Regions from separate parts of the Homo sapiens genome. Here all the other regions are linked to region 6. Evidence: promoter capture Hi-C in 16 types of primary human blood cells and fetal thymus (Javierre and others, 2016). All regions are on one chromosome and are shown on one strand. The core of a region is centred on a gene start or on the middle of the fragment in contact, and the rest is flanking DNA. Distances in the headings are between cores, read along the strand shown.

Region 1 (4,767 bases), core at 1,850-4,349, 340 kb after region 6:
ATCTGCACTATTTCTACCCTACAAACTAAAATTAATCTTCACTGGGGAATAAAGAGCACAAACACAATCTAGATGCAGCCAAAATCATTCTGGCTGCTGAATTTCACAGTTCTTAATCGATCAGAATGTGAAATCATTTCAGTAGATGGATCTTCATTAAAGAGGAGTGTATTCTTACCCCAAGAGACTAGGTCCCTGTGGTTCTCCAGGATCACATCTCTGTCCAGGGTCCTCTGAGCAGGGTTGCAAGTACCCTGTTCCTCCCGTGTGAAGTCCACAGTCACAATTTTGAAGTTCACTCCTTCCTAAAAAAGGACACACATTCCTGCTCAGCTGGGCATCATTTCCTTCCAAAGTTCATGGAGGAGGAAAAGTCTGACAGATGGAAAAAGGAAAATTGGTGACCTGGGAGTTGTCCTTAAATTGTCAGTGCCCAAAAGATTCCAGTCAAGATGTACAGGTGCCTTCTGGGTGAGCTCTTTGGGTTTTGGATGCTGGACCTGTTTTTACAACTCCAAAGAGGAATACCAGATAAGAACTGATATAAACTATTTTATTTTGTCTGCCTTAAAAAGGATGCTTATTCTGACTTTTGCACTGGTGAATATAGAATTCCCACTTAGGAATTCCCTCTAAATTCCCAAGAAATTAATGAAACAGGGGTGGTTGATTTTTTTCTGTCAAAGGCCAGATAGTAAATATTTCACACTTTGCCAGCCATACAGTCTCTATCACACTACTCAACTCTGCTGCTATAGCAAGAAATTAGCCACAGAAAATATATAAACAAATGGGTGTGGCTACATTACAATAGATCTTTATTTACAAAAACAGCCACAGGCTGTACTTTGCTAATGCATGAGACAGAAAATGAAATGTGGACCTCGATGAAAAGCAGTATGTATAGGTGAAGAACACTGGATGTAGAAGATACAAAGACTTGGCTTTCTCACCTATAAAGGGCATATATCTGCTTAAGAAATACATCTAATCTGACAATCTGTCCTTTTTTTTTCTTTTGAGACAAGACCTCACTCTGTTGCCCAGGCTGGAGTACAGTGGCACAATCATGGCTCACTGCAGCCTCCATCTTCTGGGCTCAAGTGATCCTCCCACCTAGTCTCCCAAGTAGCTGGGACTACAGGTGTGCATCACCGTGCTTGGCTAATTTTTAAAATTTTGTAGAGACAGACCCTCAATATATTGCTTAGGCTGGTCTCAGACTCCTGTGTTCAAGGAATCTTCCCATCTCAGACTCCCACAGTGCTGGAATTACAGGGATGAGCCACCACACCTGACCCAATTGTCTTTCCCTGGCGAGTTTATTCCATTTCTATTTATTAGGCCTAATAATACCTAAATCATTGGGTTGAATGAATAATTACGATGATCTATGAAAAGCCACTAGCAGAGTTTACTGATGAAACAACGAAGGCCAGCAATTACAGGCTGAGTATCCCATAGCTAAAATACTTAGGACTGGAAGAATTTTGGATTTCAGATTTTGAAATATTTGCATTTACATGAGATGCCTTGAAGATGGGATCCAAGTCTAAACACAAATTCATTTATGTTTCATATACACCTTAAACATATAGCCTAATGGTAATTTTATGCAATTTTTAAAAAAATTTTGTGTATGAAACAGTTTTGACTGTTTTGACTATGAGTGGTCGCATGAGGTCAAGTGTAGAATTTTCCACTTGTGGCATTATGCTGGGGCTCCAAAACCTTCCAATTTTGGACAATTTCAGATTTTTGGATTAGGGGTGCTTAGCCTGTACTGTTATGATTAGTAGGTCTCAGGATCCTCAAAGATTAACTGAGAGCCAAAGTGACCTTTATTCTGAACTCTCAGTCTTCAAATAACAGTTCTGTTTCTATCCATATCCAGCTGCATGGCAGAGCCTTTTAGGAGACGTTTGCTGTTATTACTGCCATATAAATGGGGTCTCTTGGGCTGCCTCCTCTAAGCAGGAAAGGGCCTGTTCTTAAGATAACTGGGCAGGAATTTTAATCCAAAAGAGAAGTGCTAAGGGTGATCTGTCCTTACCCAGGCACAGCAAAGGCAAGGGGAAGTCGAATGCCTCTTGCCACTAAAGGCTCTTTAAATAGACCAGGCATTCTTGAGCTGCAGTTCATGAATAGGATACAGGGTCCTGAATGCCATGAAAGCACATGCAAAATACTGCTGTATATGCCTCTAAGTTTGAGCCTAAAAATTTCACTGAAACCTCAAATGTTTTCATGATTAGCCCAACGTGAAATTCAAAAAATAACTCGCCAACTGCTGCCTGTATTTAACATTAATCTTTAAGGTATTGTCTTTCAATCTGTAATGCATGCTTCTTTTTAATAAACACTCCCCCTTTCTGTGTAATATAGGTCTCTTTAGTATAAAGCTTGTTCAAATGTCAAACAGATAATACTAAACTAGATTAGCACCCCCACTCCACTCCCAACTATATATTCTCAAAGTTCCATGGACTTCTATAATCACACTTTCTTATTTGCAGAATGGTCATCTCTGTCACTAGGCCATGATCCATGAAGGCAGGGACAAGTATTTACAGTTTGCAAATGTAACTCCAATGCTTAGCATAGTGTTTATATATAGTAGATATTACATTTATATTTCACAAATTATTTCAGTAAGTGAATGAACACTATCAATAAACCTTATAAGATATCAAAATAACCCTCACCCAAATTGATTTAAGTCATCCCCCCTCACCTGAATCTCACAAGCTGTACCACATACCCATTTGAAAAGGCCCCTCAATGTGCAGATACTAGCTTTTCTGGACTTCTATCCCACTTATTCTATTCTTCTCACTTGTCCCAAATTCCTCATGCCTGAAAACTCCTTCCCAAAATCTTCAACTGCCCTTGAAACTCATCTTTTGTAACAATAAAATAGGATGGGTAGGGCGGCTCATGCCTATAATCCCAGCACTTTGGGAGACTGAGGTGGGTGGATCATTTCAGCCCAGGAATTCAAGACCAGCCTGGGCAACATGGTGAAACCCTGTCTCTACTAAAAACACAAAAAATTAGCCAGGTGTGCTGGTGCATGCCTATAGTCCCAGCTACTCAGGAGGCTGAGGTTTGGAGAATCACCTGAGCCTCGGAATTCAAGGCTGCAGTGAGCCATGATCACACCATTGCAGTCCAGCCTGGGTAACTGGAGTGAGACCCTGTCTCAAAATCATAATAACAATAAAATATTGCAGTTTCAGTATCCTTCACCAAACATTCCCTATACATCCCTGTGTTAATGGAGACTTATACTTCCTGCTGATGACTTCCCTCCTCCTCAGTCCTCAGAGGCTAAGAATGCTCATACTCTCCCATCCTAGATCTCAGCATCAAAGAAGGAGTGCATGTCCTCCCAGTTACTCTGAAACTCATGCCATTTACCTCACTTCTTGGAGCTCTGTCCTACCCACCTCCTGAACACCACCCCCACCCCATTCACTGAAGATTCATACTTGGGATTTATCCTCTAATATAAGAACTTGTAGTGTCTTATCTCATATTGTCTATAGCATCCACTTGTATAGTCAGCTGATGAGAATATAAAAATAACTGACTTTAATGAAGCACTTATGAGTTTGCATGAAGCACCACCATGGTGCCAGGCATTGTGCTAACATGTCATATGGATTATTCATTTAATTCTCAAAGGGCTCCTGTGAGAAAACACTATTAGCAGTATTATTTTTTTCTTATGAAGACCAAGGGAGTCAGAGAAATTAAGACATATGCCTAAGGTTAGTAGTAGAGGGATAAAACCTCAAGCTTGCACATTGATGACTGTGTTCTCAGTCATCAGTTCATATGGCTAACCCAAGTCTCATATTCTGAAGCTGCTCTTCATCAGCTCATTCTTCGGGGGACACCCCAGACCTTGAAATTGTCATAAAACACTCCACCTTTTGAATCACAAATACAAAACTGCCCACGTTTCACTACAATGTCAGATTGCTCCACTGTATTGGCTCAGTTTTTTCCCTTTACTCTTGTTCCTTGAAAGTTTAAGGCCATTATGCTACCGAAATGTCTACTATTACCACTACCAGCCTATATTCTTTTTCATTTCTACTTAGTGGGCTCTTTATCACTTCCATATTAATTACTCAATTTAAGGTTCATGGATCATTCTTTTTAATCTTTCTACTTGACGTATTTTTAAATTCTCTTTCAAGTATTCCCTTGACCTTTGGAGTGTCCACTCCATAGGAAGTGGACCTGGCAAATTACAAAAACTAAATGAATCTGAATGTCAATCTGCTATCTGTGGAAAGTGGGCTACAAATTGCCACTGCAGGGAAAAATCCACAAAAGCAGCAGGATAGAGTATTATAAATTAATGGCCACTATCTCTGAATGAAACTTTCAGATTGACCAGCAATCCTATTACATTTACTGGAGCAGCCTGTTTCCTCTCATAATCCAAAATTGCTATTTTAAGCCTTCTCTACCCTTGTCATACATCTCTCCATTCCAATTCCCACCATCATGCTCATCTGATTTTTCGCAGTGAAAGATCAAGCTTTCAAATAATTCCCTCAACCTCACTGTTCCTATATAAATCCTTCTCCTCATATAGAGCTAATTTATTCAAGATGTTCTGAATTAATTTCTCTGGTGCTAACCAAGGACTGTGCTTTATAGTTTCTCTCTTGTTGCCTGATGAATAACTTTTTTTCCTCTACTAACTCCTTCCTGTAATCATTTAAACTGAATTGAATATTTTCAATCCCT
Region 2 (4,966 bases), core at 121-2,620, 270 kb before region 6:
AGGCAGGCCTCCTTGAGCTGTGGTGGGCTCCACCCAGTTCGAACTTCCCGGCTGCTTTGTTTACCTAATCAAGCCTGGGCAATGGCAGGCGCCCCTCCCCCAGCCTCGCTGCCGCCTTGCAGTTTGATCTCAGACTGCTGTGCTAGCAATCAGCGAGACTCCGTGGGTGTAGGACCCTCCGAGCCAGGTGCGGGATATAATCTCGTGGTGCGCCGTTTTTTTAAGCCCGCCGGAAAAGCGCAGTATTCGGGTGGGAGTGACCCGATTTTCCAGGTGCCATCCGTCACTCCGTTCTTTGACTTGGAAAGGGAACTCCCTGACCCCTTGCACTTCCCAAGTGAGGCATTGCCTCGCCCTGCTTCTGCTCCCGCACGGTGCGCGCACCCACTGACCTGCGCCCACTGTCTGGCACTCCCTAGTGGGATGAACCCGGTACCTCAGATGGAAATGCAGAAATCACCGTCTTCTGCGACGCTCACGCTGGGAGCGGTAGACCGGAGCTGTTCCTATTCGGCCATCTTCAAAACTTTGGGATATTTAGCTTACCTTGTTTCAAAGCTTAATATAAAGCTATTTCATAGAGTGTAGTATTTGTATAAGGAAAGTTAAATATATCAGTGTAACAGAAGACAGGCTCCAGAAATAATTCCAAATATATACAACCAATTGATTTATAAGAGTCACCTATGCAAATCAATGAGGGAAATAATTTTTTATCTTAAAAAATCTATTTGGAGAGATTTTATAATAAAAAAATTCCTGCAAACTATTCAAAAATCCATCAATAGAAGAACAGATGAATAAACTATGGTATATTCATACCTTGAATATTACTAAATAGTAAAAAGCTATAAACTACTAATCTAAGGAATAACATAGCAGAATCTCAAATTTTTCTATTGAATGAAAGAATTAAGGAATAGTAGTATTCATAATGTATGATTCCATTTACATGAAGATCAAGATAAGGTAAAACACATTAATTGTAATAGAAATCAGAACAACAGTAGCCTTAGGAGAATGAAAGATAAGAAGCAAGAGAGAACTTTTAGGAATGATGGAAATGTTCTGTAAGTGTCTTCCTGTTGCAGATACTCTGAATTTTTGATGAGTTGGGGATGAGTCCTTACGTGGAAACATTCATGGAAAGTATTAGCTCTGGGTTTTTTTTTTTGTTTTATTTTTTGTTTTTGACAAGAGCTCACTCTGTTGCCCAGGTTGGAGGGCAGTGGCACCATTTCGGCTCACTGCAACCTCCGCCTCCCAAGTTCAAGCAATTCTTGTGCTTCGGCCTCCTGAGGAGCTGGGATTACAGGCATGCATCACTGCACCAGGCTAATTTTTGTATTTCTAGTAACGTCGGGGTTTTGCCATGTTGGCCGGGCCAAGAACTCCTGGCCTCAAGTGATCCGCCTGCCTCAGCCTTCCAAATGCTGAGATTACAGGTGTGAGCCATTGTGCCCTGCCTTGATGTATTTATTTGAATACTTCAAAAAGAAGAAGAGTTACAGTGATACTAAGGAAATAATTATTAGTAATTAAATGGAAATACTTAGTACTTTATAATTAAATTATTATTCTAGGTTGAAAAGTAAGTATGGACAAAATTTAAAATTTAAAATAAATGAAGGCATATTACACAGAATTGAGTGGAGACCAGTACTATGGTCAGAATTGTAAAAAATGAGCCTGGAAGATAATATACTATGAATTTCATGATGAATGTCAATTGCAATTTGCTGTGAGAGAGCAAAAAAAAAAAGCTGTTTATTACATAACAAATTAAATTGTTAAAGAGAAAAATATTGTGAAACATTTTCAGCAAATACATAGTAAATTTGATGAGACGTTTTCTCTTGAGAAGCAAAATGGAATAGATGAAGTTAGTTGCCTGAAATTAGAATTAAATGTCCAACCAAAATATTTAAACAATTTTTAAACAGAATCTGAGTTTATAACCTTTTTGAGCTATAAAATGGCTCTGATTCTTGCACAAAAAAGAAATGTTGGATATAGAGATAAGATAAATTATTAGTTTGGTTGCAAAAATCTTGTTAGCATATTCTGAGAAAGACTAAAATGATCTTATAAAAAGTAAAAAAAAATTAAGTCACCTAAAAACTGCTCATAGAATACAAGATATTTCTAACAATATCATGGATCAATTAATTCAAAGTTAGCAAAAGCTTCAAGTACTCTTCTTTAGCCATATATGAGTTGTGCAATATAAGATAATTTAGCCCAATTGATACTGTGGGTACATTTTGTCTCAAAAGATCCCCAAATAAAAAAAGCTGTCAATTCGCAGCCTACAAAACCAGAGTCATGACATAGATATTTTTGTCTTTTATATCTGTCAAAGAAAAATTTCTGTTAGGTATCAAAAAATATTTCTATCACAATAGATGATACACCAGCTGTATTAGGTTAAAAATCTGAATTCCTTGGAATTTTAATGCAAGAGACTGATGTCTCCCTAACTGCTTTGCTCTACTGTATAAAGAATATACCTATGAAGTATATACATGTAAATATTATGAATCACGACTACTTCATGGAACTGTTAAAAGAAATAGAGGTCAGGCTTGGTGGCTGACGCCTGTAATCCCAGCATTTTGGGAGGCTGAGGGGGGCGATCATGAGGTCAGCAGATCAAGCCCATCCTGGCTAACACGGTGAAACCCCGTCTCTACTAAAACTACAAAAAATTAGCCAGGTGTGGTGGTGGGCACCTGTAGTCCCAGCTACTCGGGAGGCTGAGGAGAATGGCATGAACCTGGGAGGCGGAGCTTGCAGTGAGCCGAGATCGCGCCACTGCACTCCAGCCTAGGTGATAGAGTGAGACTCCGTCTCAAAAAAACATAACAAAACAAAACAAAAAAGAAATAGAGAACAATTAATCTTATGTTCTTTCCCAATGCTCATCTGTTTAATGGTGTAAGACATTTACAAAGATTTCTCGTACTTTGAACTCCAGTTCAAGATTTTCTTTAAAGAAAGTTTTCCAAATATTTAATAATAAAGGAAAAAGAAGACAGTGATTTTTTTTCTCACCAGTATCACATTGCATATGAATAAGCAAAATCTGAAACTCCAAGGAAAGGAAAGCTTTTTTTTCGTGACCTAGTGAAAATAATAGGAACATTCATTGAAATGAAAACTTTTCACTGTATAAGTTCATAATAATGATTTTATATATTTTTCTAGCATGAATCAATATATAGAGGATTTTAACAGGACTGAAAAGCCTTGTGAAAAGATGCATGCAATGAAGAAATAGGCAATCTTAGTAAAGAAATAGGAACTATAAAAGTACTAAAGGAAAATTCTAGAACTGAAAAATGTAATATCTGAAATTAAACAATTTGATAGATAGGCTTAGCAGCAGAACTGAAATGACAGAGAAAAAGAATAAGTGAATTTGAAAACAGAGTAACAGAAGTTGTCCAAGCTGAAGAACAGAAAAAAAATACTGAAGATAAATAACAAAGACAGTGACCTGTGGGACAGTACCAAAAGATTTAACGTATGAGTAGAGTAAATGCAGAAAAAATATTTGAAGATATAATGGCCAAGAATTTCTGGAATTTGGTGAAAGGCACATGTGTGCAAATTTCAGAGGCTCAGAGTACCCCAAGCAGAATTAACACAAAGAAAACCATACCTAGGCACCTCATACTCAAACAGCTGAAAACCAAAAGTAATAAGAAAATCTGGAAAGCACCCAGAGAAAAAGGACACATTACATAAGAGAAAAAACAATTCAAATGACTTCTTCTTGTAAACTATGGAGACTTGAAGACCAGAAGTCGGTGATTTATATATACATATATGAAACAATATATATCTCTTTATGAGTATATATATGTGTGTGTATTCTTTGTGTGTGTGCATATACACACACATATATTCATATATCTCCAAAAAACTGCCAACCCAGAATTCTATAGCCAGAAGAAATCCTTAAAAAATAAAGGCATTTCAGTAAAAGAAACTATGAAAATTCATCACCAGCAGACGTTCACTCCAAGAAATGCTAAGTTAAGTTCCTCAAACTGTAGGGAAATGATACCAGAGAAAAATTCAGATCTCTGGAAAGAAATAAACAGCATGGGAAATAGTAAATATATGGGTAAATATAAAAGATGAGGATTTTCATCTTAATTTCTTTAAGCAACTGGGTGTAGCACTGTGTGCCTATAGTCCCAGCTACTCCAGAGGTTGAGGCAGGAGGATTGCCTGAGCTCAGGAGTTCAAGGCTGTAGTGTGCTATATAACATCTGTGAATAGCCACTGAATTCCAGCCTGGGCAACATAGCAATACCCCATCTCTAAAAATAGAATACAGAAGACTGTTCAAATTTCCAACATGACTTTCCATGGATTACTTATTTAATTGCAAAGAAAAAATTCACCCATAACAATGGAAGGAGCTGGTGGTCAATACATGAATCAAGGGATAAAACATAGTTTCACTTGTAGGCCACCTGATACTTTACAATATTAAGTACATGATACTATCTATGAAGTAGTCTTTTGAAAATGTTTAATCTGAAACCCAATCAAGCCTCTAATCATAACCTCCAGGTCACAGTAAATATAGAGGACAAAGAAACAAGTTAATCACACCTCCAGAAACAATAAGACAAACACAGCATGTGCAACACTATTTAGGTCAAATCTAAAGTCTTCAAAAAGTCTATGTCACAAAATGATGAAGGGTAGGCTCTTGACTAAAAGAGACTTAATAAGCCATAATCATATAAAATATATGAGATTAGTTTGGTTCTTGGCTTGTGAAAAAGACAGTGCTAAAAGACATTATTTTAAAAATTGGAGAAATTTGCAAATGGAGTGAATATTTTAAGACATTATAGGGTTACTGTTAATTTTTTTGTGACAATGGTGTAGTAGACATCTAGAAGATTATCTTTGATCCTAGCAGTTGTATGTTGCCTTTTTTTTA
Region 3 (4,523 bases), core at 1,139-3,638, 300 kb before region 6:
TTTGCTGTATTATTTGTATTTACTTTTGGGATTACAATATGCATCCTTAATTTAGCATGGTCTACTTGAAATTAATAACATACTACTTTGTTGTATAATGTAAGAATTTTACTAATCTGTAAACTTCATTCAGCCTGAAAAGCTTCCTTTAGCATTTCTTGTGTTATATGGCTACTAGCAGCTAATTTTATCTTTTTTTTTTTTTTTTTTGAGACAGTCTCACTGTGTCACCCAGGCTGGAGTGCAGTGCCATGATTTCAGCTCACCGCAGCCTCTGCCTCCCAGGTTCAAGCAATTCTCGTGCCTCAGCCTCCAAAATAGCTGGGATTACAGTCGTGTGCCACTATGCCTGACTAGTTTTTGTATTTTTAGTAGACACAAGGTTTCACTGTGTTGGCCAGGCTGGTTTTGATTTCCTGACCTCAGGTGATCCACCTGCCTTGGCCTCCCAAAGTGCTGGGATTACAGGCATGAGCCACTGCACCCAGCCTTCATCTTTCTTATTTTTGAAGGATATTTTTACCAGATATGAATTTCCCAACTGATATATTTTTTCTTTTAGTTAGCTTCAAAAATGTTCCATTATCTTCTGAACTCTATTGTATATAATGATTAGACAGCTATGATTCTTATTGTTCATTTTATATATACTTTATTCTCTGTTATTAAGTTTTTTCTTTATTTTTGGTCTGTAATAATCTGACTATAAAGTTCTAGATATGGTTCCTTTACATTTATCATGCTTCACTTTCCCTTACCTTTGATCAGTGGGTTGATTTTTTTATTGAATTTGGAGAAATTTCAACCATTGTATCTTCAAATACTTTTTTCTGCTTCTTTAGTACTTTTCCTCCTCCTAAGACTCCAATTATATGTGTGTTAGACCACTTATATGGTGCCACCAGTCACGGAGGTGCAACCCCCAGTCTTTTTACTCTTTGTACTTCAGTTTGGTAATACCTATTTACCTGTCTTGAAGTCACTGTTTTTTTTTTCTTTGATAGTGTCCAATTATTGTTAAGCCTATCCAATAAAGATTTCATTCCACCTACATTTTATAGTTATAGAATTTACATTTGGTTTTGTGGGTCTGCTTTTATTGACTGTATTTTCTCTAAATCTTGTGTCAAATTTTCCTGCTTCTTTACCGGTCTTACAATTTCTCATTGTATACTGGCCATTGTAGATGCCATGTTGTAGTGACTTGGGGATTTTATTATCTTCCTAATAGTTAAACTGTTCAGGCAAGCAGTTAAATTAATAGCAGATCACAATGATCTTTTTAAGAGTTGATTTTTGAAGGCAGGTACAGTTTGGTTTTATCCTTAGTCCTGGACATAATTCTTACTCTAGGTAGGGCAGTGGTTCTCAAACTGTGGACTGAAGACCCCTGGGAGTTCCCAAGAACCTTTCAGTGGGCCAAACCTTTCACAAAGTGAAAAATATTCTCATAACAATACTGAGAGGTTTGCCTTTTTCACTGTGGTGACACTTCCACTGGTGGTGTAGAAGCCATGGTGAATCTTCTCTGCTTTAGCATGAGCAAAGGCAGAGGCACCAAATAGTACTAGTAATCATCATATTCTTTACCTCCACACACAAAGAAAATGTGTTAAGAAAAAACCCATTTTCACTTAAGAACATCTTGAAGAAGCAGTATTCATTTTATTAAATCTCAACCCTTGATTATATATACATTTAAAAAATATTCTATGTAATGAAATGGGAAGTATCCATTAAGGTCTTCTGCTGTATACCAAAGTATGATGGTTGCCTTGAAGAAAACCACTTGTACAGTTGTTTAAGTTGTGAGTTAAAGGCCAGGCTCTGTGGCTGATGCCCGTAATCCCAGCATTTTGGGAGGCCAAGGCGGACAGATCACAAGGTTAAGAGATCGAGACCATCCTGGCCAACATGGTGAAACCCCATCTCTACTAAAAATACAAAAATTAGCTGAGCATGGTGGCACGCGCCTGTAGTCCCAGCTACTCGGGAGGCTGAGGCAGGAGAATCGCTTGAACCCGAGAGGCGGAGGTTGCAGTGAGCCAAGATCGTGCCACTGCATTCCAGCCTGGTGACAAAGTGAGACTACGTCCCCACCCCCAAAAAAATTGTGAGTTAAACCAACTGCTTTTTTGACAAAACACCATATTTTTCACCAAAGAATGAAAAACTTTGTTTGTTCAGACTTGGGCAGTAGGAAAACATTTTCTTGCAAGTGAGCCTGTCACTTCAAAAATAACTAATATTTGTTGCCAATGATATAATTCAATCTGTCATGTTAAAATTAGAATTTTGTAAAATGTTTATTCATAATTTTGAGCTTTATAGCTTCCTAATACATTAAGATTTTTTATGAGATGGGTGGTAATATTAACATGTGATTTTTTGATGTTGTATAGTGAACTACGTCAACATTTCAAAGATCTGCATAACTCTTTGAATCAGTATTTTCCAAATGACCAGTGTATGATGTTACAAAATTACACATGGATAAAAGATTATTCAAAGTGCAATGTAACATAGTATGAAAAGTTCACAGATATGATTTTATATTCCACATTGTACTTAACCTGCCAGACACTACCATTTCTTAAGTTTTAGGGTGGTGTCAAAGAAAAATATCCACAGTTATCTGCATGGACTAGTAAAATATTCTGCCATTTTCCAACTATGTACCATGAGAGGCTAGATTTTCTTCATATACTTCATATATATGATTTTCTTCATATATTTCAACCTAAATAACATATTGCCATAGATTGAATGCAGAAGCAGATATGAGAATCCAGGTGTCTTTTATTAAACCATCCATTTAAAAGATTTGAAAAAATTTAAAACATCTTTTGTTTTGTTTTAGAAAAGATTATTTTTATAACAAATCATTTATGTTAACAGTTAATGGTTTATTGTTATTTTAAGTGAATTAGTAAATATCTTAAAATTTCTCTGTTTAAATTTTTAACATGACAAATATCAAAATATATAACTACATAAACTAAAAGTCTTTTGGGTCCTCAATGATTTTTCTTGACATTTAAGAAGTTAAACCCATATTTATTTACTGACACTGTAAAACCTTACATAAAACATAAGTAGTAAGTAACTAAAATGTTAAATCTAAATCTATAATGTTAAATTAAAATCTAAGCCTTACATAGAAATTAAAATTCGCTAAACTACTGATGCTATGTTGTACAAAACTGTACTCCTTTTAGTTCATAATTGGTCACCTCCATATTCAGTTGGAATATTAGGTTGGTCAGCTTAAATACTGTGGCTTTGTTTTGGTTATCCACAGAATCTTTACACCCAAATGTTAATGCATAAAAAGCAGCAAGACATTGTTAAATGAAACAGCAATAGTGCAGTTTAGACCTGTGACCAACTATATATGATTAAACTTACTTCCCACATTCACATCACAATAATCATCCATCATTTAATAGCTCAACCAAAATGTTATACAGTCATCAACAGGCAAGGCACATGAAAACCCCGCACAACCAAGAATGATTTGGGCCCAAATGTCAGTAGATTTGAGTTTGGAAAAACCTTCTTGTAGTTGTTAAGGCTCAATGGCTCTGGTTAATTTAATATAATAAACAACAACTTCATAATGGAAAAAAATTAAATCCTCTATTGAGGTATAAAACCTAATTAATTTATAAGGATAAAGTAAGTGACTACCTTGAAGTCAAAACACATTATGGACAATGAAAGAGTATTACGATTGTTCCAAATTGACAAGGGTATTTAAACCTAGGTACACAATCTTTCTTAAAATTAATTTATAGAAAGTCATAACCTGTGGGTACATGAATATGAATATACATCTTCTCCAACTTGACAAGTACATTATTGCTGGGACAGGTACCTTTTAATAACAAGTAACTTATTAGCCTAGAAAGGCCAAACTTCTCTTTTTATTGTCAGCTTTTGGTTTTTAATATACCTGGGGTTATATAAACAAAAACACAGTCATAGTAGTTTTGGGCTAAGTAAATTCTGGATTATGTCAAAGAAACCTGATTGTTTCTAGTATCTTTTGTAAGCGAAAGAGCAAATCTTTGTGCTTGCTCAGTGGCCTTTTAGGAAACCTGAAAGGCAGATTTTATGTGAAAGACATAATCTGTTACAATCTGTTTCATTATTCTGAATTGGAAAAGGCATTAACAAAAAGAGTTGTCAGAGGAGCTTTTGACAAGAACAATAGTTGTGACTAATTAATCAGAACATCAACACAATATTTAAAATAATGAGAAGGTAGCAAGATTTTAATTTTTATTTAAATAAAAAATTCTGTTCTATTTAAAAATAGTTTAGATGTGTAGTATAAGGTAGCTAAAAGCATGAAAATTATTTGACTCTTAAAATTTGAAGCATACACAGAAGTGTGGCAAAATTATGCAGATTTATTTTCTTCATGTATTGAAGAAAAAGAATAATACTTTAATTTCCTCATATAGAGTGGACAGTTTACTCCAAGATCATCATTTTCCCTTAGCTAGCAGTCTTTTCTA
Region 4 (4,973 bases), core at 499-2,998, 260 kb after region 6:
GCCTTAAGAGGTAAGGGGAGGGAGCAGTCCCTGGAGCCTGGAACTAAGAGGACTGTGTGGCCAGGGCCACCCAAACTATGACCTGTTGTTTAGAAGGGCAGCTAATCTGTGACAATCCTGCAGAGAGAGAACTGGGGGACAAGATACTCCAACTCACACTTCTTCCTCTCTCCAAACTTTCCTGTTGAGACTTCCCATTGGCCAAAGACAAGCAAGGCCAGAAGGCAATGGCGGCCTTTCAGGGCAGACAGCAGGGTGGAAAAGGTGGGGAGCCAAAGGCATGGGACACATGGCACCTCAAGACTCTTGTTTTTTCCCTATCTGCCAAAGTCCACACAGCTCTCGCACACAAATGCCTTTCTCATCCCTCACCCTGACAACTACTCTGATCTGAGGAATGCATCAGGAATGAGACCAGATGCCCATATCAACTTCTTCAGGGAATGAAGACCTAGAGGAAAAGTGCAGCTGAATCTGGAACTGCAATTGCCCAGAAACACGATCAGAAATGTAATAAATGCTGCTATTACACCTAAAATAATTAACACTAAATCTCTAACTTTATCAAATATACAGAGAGTGTTCAAACTTCAAATTTGTTGAGTGTAATTTAACAACTTATATTTGCTAATGTGCTTTATAATACTCAAAGTCCCTACTCCCTGGCTCACAGCATGTGAGGTGAGAATGGAGTTAATAATTTGGGGCAGTTCTTTTCTTTTCTTTTTTCTTTGAGACAGAGTCTGGCTCTGTCGCCCAGGCTGGAGTGCAGTGGCGTGATCTCAGCTCACTGCAAGCTCCGCCTCCCGGGTTCACGCCATTCTCCTGCCTCAGCCTCCCGAGTAGCTGGGACTACAGGCGCCTGCCACCGTGCCCGGCTAATTTTTTGTAATTGTTTTTTGTAGTAGAGACGGGGTTTCACCGTGTTAGCCAGGATGGTCTCGATCTCCTGACCTCGTGATCCGCCCACTTTGGCCTCCCAAAGTGCTGGGATTACAGGCGTGAGGCACCGCGCCAGGCCTGGGACAGTTCTTTTCAAAATGTATTCGGTGACATTAAACTCTGGAGTTATTACAGTATTACAGTCTGAGTTGTTTCTTTATTGCCAAAAGCCAGAACCTCTGCCTTGAAGTCATAAATGCCCCAATGGAGTCAGAGCTGCCAAAATCCAGAGTTCAGACCCAAGACAACTCCCCATCCAAGAACCTAGGGGTGCTGAGCCAGAATCGCCCCCACCAAACTGAGCGAGAACAGCCGAAGCCATCCTCTATATCCAGAGACTAGCTGCTTAAGCAAATCCCTCATCCCATTCAGGGACGCACAGTCCAGCCATTACTCCAAAACCCTGAGCCAGCGCCCCTCTGCCCTCATCCAGAGATGCACATCCCAAGACTGACCCTAAGCTTCGACCCGAGGAGGCACAGCGCAAGTCGCTGTCACGAAACGTGAAGATGCACTGTTTTGTCAAACCCAGGGCTGCTCCCCAAACCGAGCCCACGCTCGAGCCCACGCTCTTCCCATCCTATCCCGGGTAGGTCGGGCCGCTGAACTTCCCTAGTCTACCCCACCTACGAGGCCTTATCATTGGTTACCAGTCCCCTCTTCCACTCCTCCTACTTCAGTCCACAGGGACGGGTCACAGCTGCACATCCTACACTCCTACTCCTGGCTACGCCTCCAAGAGGGGCGCGGTACAGACGGGACTCACCCCAGCGTCCCAAACAATGTCGCCCGCAGCGTGCGTCCAGTACCATGGCGCATGCGCAAGGAGGCCTATGGCCTACAATCCCCAGAAAGCCCCGCGCGCAGCAGTGGCCATTCGCAAGGCTACCCTGGTGAAGGTGGCCTTTGACTTCCGTGCATTTGGAAGTCCTTTGACTTCCGTGCATTCGTCTAAAATAACGACAATCATAATAACGATAAAATAATGAAATGTTAAATAAATCACTATCAACGATGAAAAGAAGTTTCAATATTTTACTACTTGGAAATGGGCACTTTACCGTTTTAGTGAAGACTTTTATAAGTTCTTATTTTATAGGCATGTCTTTTAACGTTAAAACCACGAAACTTTTCAATTAACACTCACTTAAATAATTCCCTCCCCGCCCCCCACCATGTTTTATTTCTGTTGATGAAAACTCTGGATAATCTACACTTGCGATATAACATAGCCCTGTAATTTATTTCCTAGTCTCAGAAGAAGCAGAAGGAATTAACAACTATTGTCTGAATCCTTAACAGGGGAATTGCAGGAGTACTGAGAGTGTCCTAAAAGAGACACATTACAACATAACAAGAAAACGCGGGAAGTTTTCAGATTCTTTTTGAAAATTTGCCCTTGTTGAGACTTAGGCTTTATTTTACTTCATGTTATTGCATTTAAGATTTAAGATTTCTATTAAAGAAAAATTTGGGTACCCTAAATGGGGTAAGAAAATTGAATAGGAATTCCATTAGAGGCCCACAGTTTTAGCCTGGAGGAAAGCCCTGATAACGTGTGAGAACAATCTGTCTCCTAGGAAAGGTCACCTGGTCCTGCTGGCAGAGTCTCTGTTTGGAATATCTGGCTGGCATTCCCTTTTCCACGCACCCTCAAGCTGTAGGGGTGGTGAGGCGGTTCCAGTCCTAGACTAGATAGAGAAGTGAAGACCCCCACCTCTACGCAATGGGCAGGAAATGGTTGAATAATATCCAACTATAGCTTGACATCGCAGCTTAGGGCACATAAAGGGACAGTGCAATTGTTTTGGCTTATCTCTGTCTTTTGATGTTTACATGTTTGATGTTCTTATATATTGCTCTAAGTTGAAGGATTACTTGATTTAATTTGACATACTTGAATTTTAAAAAACGAGTTCAGGAACATTTTTATTTTTGACCTAATACAAGGTTAATTTTTGTGACATCTGTGTCTGTTGGAAAACAATGTGTCTTCTCTATCAGATGGATATGCATACATTTATATTTTCCCCAGACTTGCTAACTGTGCTATTTAAATTTCCTACATGCTTATTTGTGCTTACTTAGATTTTTTCATTATGCATCTGTCAACGATTGAAAAGTGCATGTCAAAAAGGTTCCCAGTCTGGGCGTGGTGGCTCAAGCCTGTAATCTCAGTACTTTGGGAGGCCGAGGTGGGCAGATCACGCGGTGAGGAGTTCAAGACCAGCCTGGCCAAGGTGGTGAAACCCCATCGCTACTAAAAATACAAAACTTAGCCAGGCATGGTGGCAAGCACGTGTAGTCCCAGCTACTTGGGAGGCTGAGGCAAGAGAATCACTTGAACCCAGGAGGTGGAGGTTGCAATGAGCCGAGATCATGCCACTGCACTCCAGCCTGGGCGACAGAGCAAGACTCTGTCACCAAAAAAAAAGAAAAAAGAAAAAAGTGAAAGAAAAAAAAGCCTATAATGGTAAATTTGTCATTTTCCTCTCTATAGCATTTGCTTTATTTATTTATTTATTTATTTATTTATTTATTTCCTTTATTTTTTTTTTGAGACTGAGTCTCGCTCTGTTGCCCAGGCTGGAGTGCAGTGGCGCCATCTCAACTCACTGCAAGCTCTGCCTCCCAGGTTCACACCATTCTCCTGCTTCAGCCTCCCGAGTAGCTGGGACTACAGGTGCCCGCCACCAGGCCCAGCTAATTTTTTTGTATTTTTAGTAGAGACAGGGTTTCACCGTGTTAGCCAGGATGGTCTCCATCTCCTGACCTTGTGATCTGCCCACCTCGGCCTCCCAAAGTGCTGGGATTACAGGCGTGAGCCACCATGCCCAGCCTGCTTCATTTTTCAAAAGTCAAGTTACTAGGTATACAAATGGCTTTACTTTTTAAAAGTTGTGTTGTTAGGTATGGAAGTGTTGTATTCCTTATCTGAAATACTTGGGACCAGAAGTGTTTCAGATATTTTATTTTTTTCAGATTTTGCAATATTTGCATATACGTAATGAGATATCTTGAGGATGAGACCCAAGTCTAAATGCAAAATTCATTTGTGTTCCATATAAACCTTATACATGTAGCCTGAAATTAATTTTATAGAATTATTTTGAATAATTTTGTTCACAAGGTTTGTATACAATGTTTGTGTGCATTGAACCATCAGAAGCAAAGATTGCCTTCGTCAGATGACCAAAGAAAAATCAATGAAAAGAACAGAAAGAAAGCAAATACTTCAGGTGTGGAATTTTCCACTTGTGGTGTCATGTTCACATTCCAAAAGTTTTAGATTGTGAAACATTTTGGATTTTAAAATTTAGTGATGCTGACCCTGTGTAAGTTTCATAATGTTCATATCTTCTTGATGGGCCAAAAATTTCGTTAACAATTTTAAGTATTTTGTATTTTCACCTTGAGTTTACTTTTCAGTGAAGACTGTACCTGCTTTCTTTTCATTAGATTTCATCTAGTATTTATTCTTTCATTTTGTCTTAAAATTAGTATATTTCTTTACCTTATTATTTATATACTCTTTATTATTATAGTTATTTTTAAATGTTACTTTTACCTAATCTAAGAGCTTGGCTTTAGTCTGAAAATCCACACTTAAATGGGTGTGTTAAGAACAAAAGAGAAAGCTCTTGTATAATTGATCTAGGAGCTGCTCATACTTCCCAACTGTAGAACAGTGAATCTGGCCTGTAATCCTAGTTGCTCAAGCAGCTGAGGTGGGAGGATGGCTTGAGCCTGGAAGGTTCAGGGTGTAGTGAGCTATGATGGTGCTACTGTACTCCAGCTTGGGTGACAGCATGAGATCTTATGTCTGAAAAAATAGAACAGTGACCCTCAAACAGGAATGAAATAGCCTCCCTAAGACTTTTTTGAATTGTGTGAGTGATCTTTGCTTGCTCCAGTGACTGGGGTATGTGTTTAGTATGCAGAGGTAAGGAATGCTAAACATATTGCACTTGTAAATTAATTCTCTCAACAAAGAAGTCATCCATTCAAATACCCAACAGTAACCCCTTGAA
Region 5 (4,535 bases), core at 434-2,933, 280 kb after region 6:
TATATTACTACCACAAATCCTAGTATAATTTTGATAACCAAATTATACCATAATAGAACAACAACAACTACAACAACAACAAATAAAGCCAGAAAACTAAAGGAAAATGTTTCAACGAATAGGACTGCAAAATTGTATGAAAAGCAGCAAACAAAATCCAGCAATATATTGAAATTTTTACAGTACAACAGTAATGCATGGAAATTAATCATTACTACATTTAGCAATATAAATCATCATATTAAGAAATATTACTTTCTAAAACATATCACCATGAAAATAAATGTCAATCAACAGTTTGAAAGTAATTTTCTTGTTAATATATATAACAGGAAAAAAGATCAAAACCTAGAAAAAATACACAAAAAGAGTTCATAGATAAGATGAATACCTAAACAGAAAGAAACAAGGAGTAAATAGCAAGGGAAATACAAAGGAATAAGCTTATAAGAGGATGAAGAGTCAGGGAGATGTGGCTCACACCCGTGATCCCATCACTTTGGTAGGCCAAGGCAGGAGAATCACTTGAGCCCAGGATTTTGAGACAAGCCTGGGCAACATAGTGAGACCTCGACTCCACAAAAAAAATAAAAGAAAATTATCAGGTGCAGTGGTGCACACCTGTAGTTGCAGCTACTCAAGAGGCTGAGGATCTCTTGAGGCTCTGATCCGACCATAGCACTAAAGCCTGGGTGACAGGCTGAGATCCTTTCTCAAAAAAAAAAAAAAAGAAAAAAAAAAAGAGGATGGCCAATATCTCCTACCTGGAAAAATTCACATAACGTAATGCCATAATTGTTCACCTGATGGAAAAAAATAAAAGGATTAATAAGAGCCAGGTTTTTTTGTTTGTTTTTCTTTTCACATGGAGTCTTGCTCTTTCACCCAGGCTGGAGTGCAGTGGCTTCCGCCTCAGCCTCCTGAGTAGCTGGGACTACAGGCGCCCACCACCACACCCGGCTAATTTTTCTACTATCAGTAGAGACGGGGCTTCACAATGTTGGCCAGGATGGTCTCGATCTCTTGATCTCGTGATTCACCCGCCTCAGCCTCCCAAAGTGCTGGGATTACAGGTGTGAGCCATTGCGCCCGGCCTAAAATTTTTTTTTAATTAAAAATTAAATAACTAAAAAATGGGTGAAAGACATGACAAGGCAGTGAAAAGAAAAATGACAAAAACACATCAACTATGACCACCTTGACTGTTAGCAATAAAATGAAAACCAACATCCTTTTTATATATCAAGTTGACAAAGATTAAACATTTTTATTATAAATCATGTGATCCTAAATAGTGTGAGAAAATAGACCCTTTTACATTTTAGGCTCAGCGAAAAAAACAAAAACTGTTTTTCCTCTGCTCTCACATCACAACAATCAACACAGAAGATTCCTGTGACAACATGTCTGGGGATTTCTCTCGGTCAGTCAAGCACACCATCCATTCTGCTGTGGACGCCAGCTGGGTGTCTTCTAATTCAATGATGACACTATCTACCTGGCCATAGCATTAGATTCCACAGGGCTCAGTTCTGCAAGACTCGCCTCCCACTGTAATAACAATGGCAAGTCCTATGTTGTTTTACCTGTGCTTCTGACCAACTGGGTATAAATCAGGTTTCCACCACTCCCTGTTTCAGTTGAATTAATTTGCTAGAACAGCTCACACCACACAGGGAAACACTTACATTTACCATTTTATTATAGAGGATGTTGCAAAAAATTCAGAAAAAAAGATTCATGGGGCCTGGCATGGGGGGAGGGGTGCACTACCTTCCAGGAAGTTTTATCCAGAAGCCCTATAAACCCAGTCCTTTTTTGTTTTTATGGAGGCTTCATTACATAGGCATGATGGGTTAAACCATCGGCTATTGGTGATCAACTCAACCTCAGGCTCTCAACCCTCCCTGGAAATTGGGGTTGAGGCATTGCCATTCTTGGTCTGAGTAATAGAATTTACATAAACGGAATTTTAAAACAGATTAGCATAACTGAAAACTTAATTAGATGGTCTAATTATCTGGAGCCACACCTTGATATTCCTAACCTCACCACCCTCATCCTATGAATGCTCCACCCACCTGGCCCCAAAGTCTCTACATGGTTCCAGAGCAGAAGAATGTTTATACAATGCATATCTCCACTTTTTCTTAAAAGTCTTTTTGCTTACATGGGTAATTCTTAAACTGCCATACATCAGGGTCAGGGGGAAGGCTTGAGAGAACCTAGATTTGTGGATCTCCGGGGCTTGAGGGTTGCAAGGATGCTGCTGGTCTCAAAACCACAACGTGAGAACCACAGCACTAGATAGTTTTCAATGCATTTAATTAATAATATATTTGGCCAACAAAATTTCTAATTTCTTAGATTGTCCCAAATGCGTCACATGACATCAAATCAGGAGAGCAGTTTCCTAGGAGATGGAGCCTGGAAAAGTTGGGGGAGACACATGAAAGGAGGAGTGAAGCTCCGCCCTTTCTGCTGCCAGGCTGCACCTGAGGCTATTTAAACCCACCCTGGCGGGCCTGTGCCCAGATCTTCCCAGAGCAGAGCAGTGGCTGCAGTGTCACTGCAATGGCCACCACTGCCAGAATGGTGTTACATCAGTCTATTCAAAAGGCTCATTTTGTTAATGATTGGCAAGCCAATTCCACCCAAATGTGGAATTCTCAACAAGGCATTGATCAAAAATTGGCTAATCAAATTAATTATTTAAGACAGTCTGTTACTTGGCTTGGAGATTGGGTAGTGAGTCTCAAACATCGAATGCAAATGCAGTGTGATTGGAACACTTCAGATTTCTGTATCACCCCATGTTCCTATAAAGAGACTGATCATTCATGGTAAATGGTCAAAGGACACCTTCTGGGTAGGGAAGATAATTTATCATTTAATTTAAGATAAATTAAAGAAACAAATTTTTGAAGCTTCTCAAGCTCACTTATCCATTGTGCCTGGAGCTGAGGTGTTAGATCAGGTGGCAGAAAATCTTTATGGATTAAACCCCATGACTTGGATTAAGTCTATTGGGGGCTCCTCTGCAGTGAATTTTGGAAATATGTTTCTCTGTTTAATCAGCTTGTCTTTAGTGTGTGGAACCAGTCAAAGAATCCTGAGTCAAAATTGAGAGAACGAACAAGCCTTCATCACCTTGGCACATTTATATAAAAAAAAAAAAAAATGGGAGAGATGTTGCGGGAAGTCAGGGACTCCGAACGTTGGGACAGGCTGAAGCCATGGCAGAAGAACATAAATTGTGAATATTTCATGGACGTTTATCATTTCCCCAATCAATACTCCTGTTTTTTCCTATGCCTGTCTTTAATCTCTTAATCCTGTCATCTTCGTAAACTGAGGATGAATGTCGCCTCTGGACCCTGTGATGATTGCATTATCTGCACAAATTGTTTAAAAAATATGAAATCTGGGCACCTTGAAAAAAGAACAGGATAACAGTGATGTTCAGGGAATAAGGGAGATAACCATTAGATCTGGCTGCCTGAGAGCCAGGCAGAACACAGCCATATTTCTCTTCTTTCAAAAGCAAATAGGAGAAATATTGCTGAATTCTTTTTCTCAGCAAGGAACAGCCCTGAGAAAGGGAATGCGTTCCTAGGGGTAGGCCTCTGAAATTGCAGCTCTGGGGACGTCTGTCTTTTATGGTTGCAGATAAGGGATGAAATAAGCCCTGGTCTCCCGTTGCACTCCCAGGCCAATTAGGATGAGGAAATTCCCGCCTAATAAATTTTGGTCAGACCGGTTGTCTGCTCTCAAACCATGTCTCCTGATAAATGTTATCAATGACAATGCATGCCCAAAACTTCATTAGCAATTTTAATTTTGCCCCAGTCCTGTGATCTCACCCTGCCTCCATTTGTGTTGTGATATTTTATTACCTTGTGAAGTATGTGATCTCTGCGACCCACACCCTATTCGTACACTACCTCCACTTTTGAAAATCACTAATAAAAACTTGCTGGTTTTGCGGCTTGGAGGTGCATCACGGAACCTGCCAACATGTGATGTCTCCCCCAGACACCCAGCTTTAAAAATTTCTCTCTTTGTACTCTTTCCCTTTATTTCTCAGACCGGCCAACACTTAGGGAAAATAGAAAAGGACTCTTGTTGAATCATCATGGGTGGGTTCCCCCAGTGCATAGGTATACATAGGCCATGGTGATTTGCTGTATGCATCAACCCATCATCTACATGTGCCATGGTGATTTGCTGCACACATCAACCCATCATCTACATTAGGTATTTCTCCTAATGCTATCCCTCCCCTTGCCCTCCACCCACCAACAGGCCCCGGTGTGTGATGTTCCCTTCCCAGTGCCCATATGTTCTCATTGTTCAACTCCCACTTATGAGTGAGAATATGCAGTGTTTGGTTTTCTGTTCCTGTGTTAGTTTCCTGAGATTGATGGTTTCCAGCTTCATCCATGTCCCTGCAAAGGACATGAACTCATTCTTTTTTATGGCTGCATAGTATTCCATGGTGTATATGTGCCATATTTTCTTTATCCAGTCTATGA
Region 6 (4,391 bases), core at 1,163-3,662:
GGAAAAAATAATTTTAAATTTTTTAGAAGATATTGACTGATTTACATTTCTTTCTTTTCTTCCTTTTTTTTTTTGTTTTTTTTTCTGAGACAGAGTCTCGCTCTGTCACTCAGCTGGAGTGCATTTCCCTTCCTTCCTCCCTCCCTTCCACTTTTTTTTTTTTTTTCTGAGACAGTGTCTCGTTCTGTCACCCAGATTGGAGTGCAGTGGCGTGATCTCGGCCTCCCAGGTTCAAGTGATTCTTGTACCTCAGCCTCCTGAGTAGCTGGGATTACAGGCATGTATCACCATGCCACGCCCAGCTGATTTTTTGTATTTTTAGTGGAGACAGTGTTTCACTATGTTGGCCAGGCTGGTCTCAAACTCCTGGCCTCAAGTAATCCGCTGGCCTTGGCATCCCAAAGTACTGGGTTTACAAGCGTGAGCCACTGCGCCTGGCCGAGATGGAGCATCTCAATAAATTTTGTCATTTGGAAGGGCCGACTAGAGCAACAATACAGCTGTAACTAGTATAGAAATAGCAGTCAGTCAATTTTCAAAGAGGGGGATGTGTGGCATTGTGTGGTTAGCATAGTAACCTTGTTTTTATGTAAACACAATTGTGAAAAGGTATTTTTTTAGTTTATAAAATGAATCTAGAATGTGAGACTTCATTTTTTAAAAAACAAAAATATAGATTGATAAGTGTATTAGTCCATTCCCCCATTGCTATAAAGAAATACGTGAGTCTGGGTAATTTATAAAGAGGTTTCATTGGCTCACACAGAGTCCTGCAGCCTGTAAAGGAAACATGGCAGCATCAGCTCAGCTTCTGGGGAGGCCTCAGGAAACTTACAACCATGCTGCAAGGCGACTAGGGAGCCAGCACTTCACATGGCCAGAGTAGGAGGAAAAGAGCGAGGAGTGAGATGCTACACAATTTTAAACAAGCAGATCTCATGAGAACTCTATCAGGAGAACAGCACTAGAGGGATGGTGCTAAACCATTAGAAACCTCCCCGGTGATCCAATCGCCTCCCACCAGGCCCCAACTCCAACACTGGGGATTACATTTCAACATGAGATTTGGGTGGGGACACAGATCTAAACCATATCAATAGGCCAATGTATGTTTATGGGGAGAAAAAAATCTGGTTATCTTTTTTTTTTTTTTTTTTTCCGTGACAGAGTCTTGCTCTGTCGCCCAGGCTGGAGTGCAGTGGCATGATCTCGGCTCACTGCAACCTCTGCCTCTCAGGTTCAAGCGATTCTCCTACCTCAGTCTCCCGAGTAGCTGGAATTACAGGCACGCACCACCATGCCCGGCTAATTTTTGTATTCTTAGTAGATATGGGTTTTCACCATGTTCTCCTGGCTGGTCTCGAACTCTTGACCTCATGGTCCGCCCGCCTTGGCCTTCCCAAAGTGCTGGGATTACAGGCGTGAGCCACCGCACCCAGCCCCTGGTTATCTTGAAGAAAGATTTTAGATGGGTTTTTTTCTGATTTTGCTTTATTCTATTATTTATTTGTATCAACCAATGTAAGCCAGATTCCAAATTGCTAACTATAATGACGATATTTTAACCAAAAAATATAAAGGAAGAAAATAAAATATGTTCCTTCACGTATAGGATCCTCCTTAATGCTACTGCATTAAATAAATCATAGGCATTGGGTGTCTGACATCAATGCCAAGCGCTTCACCAGTTATACTTGCTTTGAAGTATTGGGCAATTTAAGAGCTTCTCTGAAATTTGGTGTTTTTACCTCTTCAGTAGACATAATACCATGAAAAGTGTAAACGAAAGAAGATAGCTTTTCCATGAGGACAGGGCTTCCCCACTGGCCCTCTCAAATGATGATTGTTTTTCCTGCCAAACCAGTGGTACCACAGCGTCTGGAGTAGGGGCTGGCACCTTCTTTGTTCTTCATTGCCTCTCCCAAACCATTGTACTTGCTCACTCTTCCAACTTTTAGTTTTGGCCTCATATTATCAGTTTATAGTAATCAATCATCAATCATCTACTGACCCCTAAAAAGTCATTCCCCATTTAGTCCTTGAAGATTGTATCTCCTCGCTTGTTCTCTTTCCAATAATCCTCCGTAGTCCTGGGAGGCGTTTAGACTTCAGGAATTGCTGTCTATTCAATATTTTCGCTCAAGGACTCAGGCAGAGGGAAGGACGACTCTCAGGGTCACAGTCCACATTCCCTACCAAGCGCTCAGCGATATAGGATTCGTTCCCCATGGGCAGTGCGGGAATCGTAGGCAAGGAGCACCGCGGAGTCCCATCGCTTTTCCCTGAAGGGTGAGATTCTGAACGTTTTTCCCTCAGCATTCTGAGTGTAATCCAAACGCTCAGTGGAGTCGTGGTCCATTTGACCCACGCAGGGGGATCCGGGGAATTCTGGGAAATGTAGTCCCGCCAATCAGTGGAGTCGCGGGCACTTCCGCTCCAGGGAAGAGGGGGCGATTGTCACGGCACATTCCACGGTAGTTTCTTCCAGTTCCGCGACTCGCGGGCCCCTCCTAATGTCAGGGACTTAAGATTGGGGCTCGCTGGGACCTGGTGGTCCGGTTATGGGAAAAGAAGCCTCGTGGGAGAGCAGAGGTTTGGTGGGGCGAGGGCGGCGGCTTTTGTTGTGTCAGCGGAGCCTTCTTGGGCTGGGGCTCCCCTCGTGTCCCGCGGCGGGAGGCGGGGGGCATTGGGACTTGGTTGGGTCGCGTCTCGCCTGGTTTGAGGGTTTCCGGGGCTCTGAGCTCGCCCACTCCGCCTCCCTGCACTCCAGGCGCGCAGTCACTTTTTTACAGTGCAAGGTTGGCGTGTTAATCTCCCTGGGCCTCTCCTTGCTGTTCTTTAAAATGGGGACGTTAGGACCATCTTTGTAGAATCGTTTTGGTAACTGGAATAGGTTACACAACACAAACAGTCCCTGTCACTTGGTGAGTGGTGGTTTCTTGTTACTTTCCCACGAAACCTGTTAGGTCCCCCGGTGGGGTCAGAGCTCCAGCAGCAGGGGCCTCAGCCCTTATCTCTGATCCCTGCAGGACGCTGGACGATCCCGGACGCCTTCTGACCTCTTTTTAGGCAGGCGAGGGTTGCGTCCACTTCCACGAAGGGAGGGGAGCATTTAACTTTTCTCAGGGACAGCGACCCAGTCAGGATGTTTCACAGCTTTCTCCTTCCCCAGCCTGAAAAAGGACTGCGCGGACTGACTTCTTGGCTACTGAAAGCAAAGCTCCACGTGAGTGTGACTTGTCATTTTTCTTTTACAGAGACTGTATCTTTGTAGCATGTGTAATAGGGCATGGGCATTTATAATAATTAAGCCTTAATTGCTAACTTCAATTCTAGGGGATTTATACAATTAGATACGTTTAAGCCGCAACGTGACTCTGTGGAGAGGTACTGGTCATCCAAGTAGTAAGAGGTGAAACTTGGGTTGGAACCTAGGCATTCAGGGTCAGAGCCCGAGTTGATCATCTCTTGGATATATTCTCATTGAGGCAGAGGAACTAGCTGTACTCAGGTGGGGAAAGTAAGTTAGAACTTGATTAAAGGACCTTAAGAGCAAGGCTAATTGCCTTGGAGTTTTCTCAGTTTTTAAAAACTGTCAACTATTTTGTTTCATTTATTACAAATATTTCACATTCTAATAGAACCGTATCACTGTGAAGCATTCAGAAATTACAGAAATACGAAGATACAAAAATTGTAATTACCTATGAAATCAGGATGTAAAGATAGTAATGGTTAAATTTCTAATGCATTTTGTTTTAGTGGTTCCATGTTTATATTACTTATAAATGTTTTACAAAATTTTTATTATACATTTCTCAATGTTTTTCTATTTATCTGCTTATCCATGGAAATTTCCAGATAAAGAGATAATAAACTAGTGACCTGCCATATTCTATCATGCTCATTCTTATTCTTCTCATTATTATTTCTCCTATGACTATTTCCTGATTTTTTAAAAAAACTTTAACACAGTAATTATATAATTTTAAGTCTATAGAAAAGTTGCAAAAATAGTATAAGAGGGCAGGGCATGGTGGGTCATGCCTGAGTCCTGAGTTATGGAACTGAGGCACTCAGGGTCACAGCCCGAGTAATCCCAGCACTTTGGGAGGCCAAGGCCTGTGGATCACTTGAGGCCAGGAGTTTGAGACCCGCCTGGCCAGCATGACAAAAACTCGTCTCTGGCCGGGCGCGGTGGCTCACGCCTGTAATCCCAGCACTTTGGGAGGCCGAGGCGGGCGGATCACGAGGTCAGGAGATCAAGACCATCCTGGCTAACATGGTGAAACCCCGTCTCTACTAAAAATACAAAAAATTAGCCGGGCGTGTTGGCGGGCACCTGTAGTCCCAGCTACTTGGGAGGCTGAGGCAAGAGAATGGTGTTAACC

The links. Contacts are between HindIII fragments. The CHiCAGO score rates a contact against its expected background, and 5 or more counts as called.
Region 1: a fragment that was not itself captured here is called in contact with the fragment with the promoter of ZNF234 in region 6 in 16 of 17 cell types (total B cells, total CD8 T cells, naive CD8 T cells and 13 more); the score reaches 11.3 in total B cells.
Region 2: a contact is called between a fragment that was not itself captured here and the fragment with the promoter of ZNF234 in region 6, in 12 of 17 cell types (naive CD8 T cells, M2 macrophages, M1 macrophages and 9 more). The highest score is 8.4, in naive CD8 T cells.
Region 3: a contact is called between a fragment that was not itself captured here and the fragment with the promoter of ZNF234 in region 6, in 7 of 17 cell types (M2 macrophages, naive CD8 T cells, non-activated CD4 T cells and 4 more). The highest score is 8.0, in M2 macrophages.
Region 4: the fragment with the promoter of ZNF285 here is called in contact with the fragment with the promoter of ZNF234 in region 6 in 10 of 17 cell types (total B cells, monocytes, naive CD8 T cells and 7 more); the score reaches 10.0 in total B cells.
Region 5: a contact is called between a fragment that was not itself captured here and the fragment with the promoter of ZNF234 in region 6, in 1 of 17 cell types (monocytes). The highest score is 5.2, in monocytes.

Annotation. Positions count from the first base shown.
Region 1 is chr19:44,479,105-44,483,871 of GRCh38, forward strand. ZNF180 (zinc finger protein 180) reads right to left here. Exons shown (of 5, transcript NM_001278509.3): 4 at 179-305. Among named protein-coding and RNA genes, the nearest start is that of ZNF180, 19 kb to the right of the region's middle. The HindIII fragment of the contact is 1,399 bases long and covers 2,401-3,799 here.
Region 2 is chr19:43,866,780-43,871,745 of GRCh38, forward strand. No RefSeq gene overlaps it. Among named protein-coding and RNA genes, the nearest start is that of ZNF404, 15 kb to the right of the region's middle. The HindIII fragment of the contact is 1,628 bases long and covers 557-2,184 here.
Region 3 is chr19:43,841,243-43,845,765 of GRCh38, forward strand. All of the region lies in intron 6 of ZNF283 (zinc finger protein 283), which reads left to right. Among named protein-coding and RNA genes, the nearest start is that of ZNF283, 16 kb to the left of the region's middle. The HindIII fragment of the contact is 4,496 bases long and covers 141-4,523 here.
Region 4 is chr19:44,399,860-44,404,832 of GRCh38, forward strand. ZNF285 (zinc finger protein 285) reads right to left here and starts at 1,749. Exons shown (of 4, transcript NM_152354.6): 1 at 1,709-1,749. RefSeq lists an enhancer at 1,146-1,902. The HindIII fragment of the contact is 3,728 bases long and covers 1,402-4,973 here.
Region 5 is chr19:44,416,744-44,421,278 of GRCh38, forward strand. No RefSeq gene overlaps it. Among named protein-coding and RNA genes, the nearest start is that of ZNF285, 17 kb to the left of the region's middle. The HindIII fragment of the contact is 2,484 bases long and covers 442-2,925 here.
Region 6 is chr19:44,139,142-44,143,532 of GRCh38, forward strand. It overlaps ZNF234 (zinc finger protein 234), which reads left to right and starts at 2,413. Exons shown (of 6, transcript NM_006630.3): 1 at 2,413-2,592; 2 at 3,173-3,226. RefSeq lists enhancers at 2,441-2,840, 2,595-3,185, 2,851-2,900. The HindIII fragment of the contact is 9,485 bases long and covers 1-4,391 here.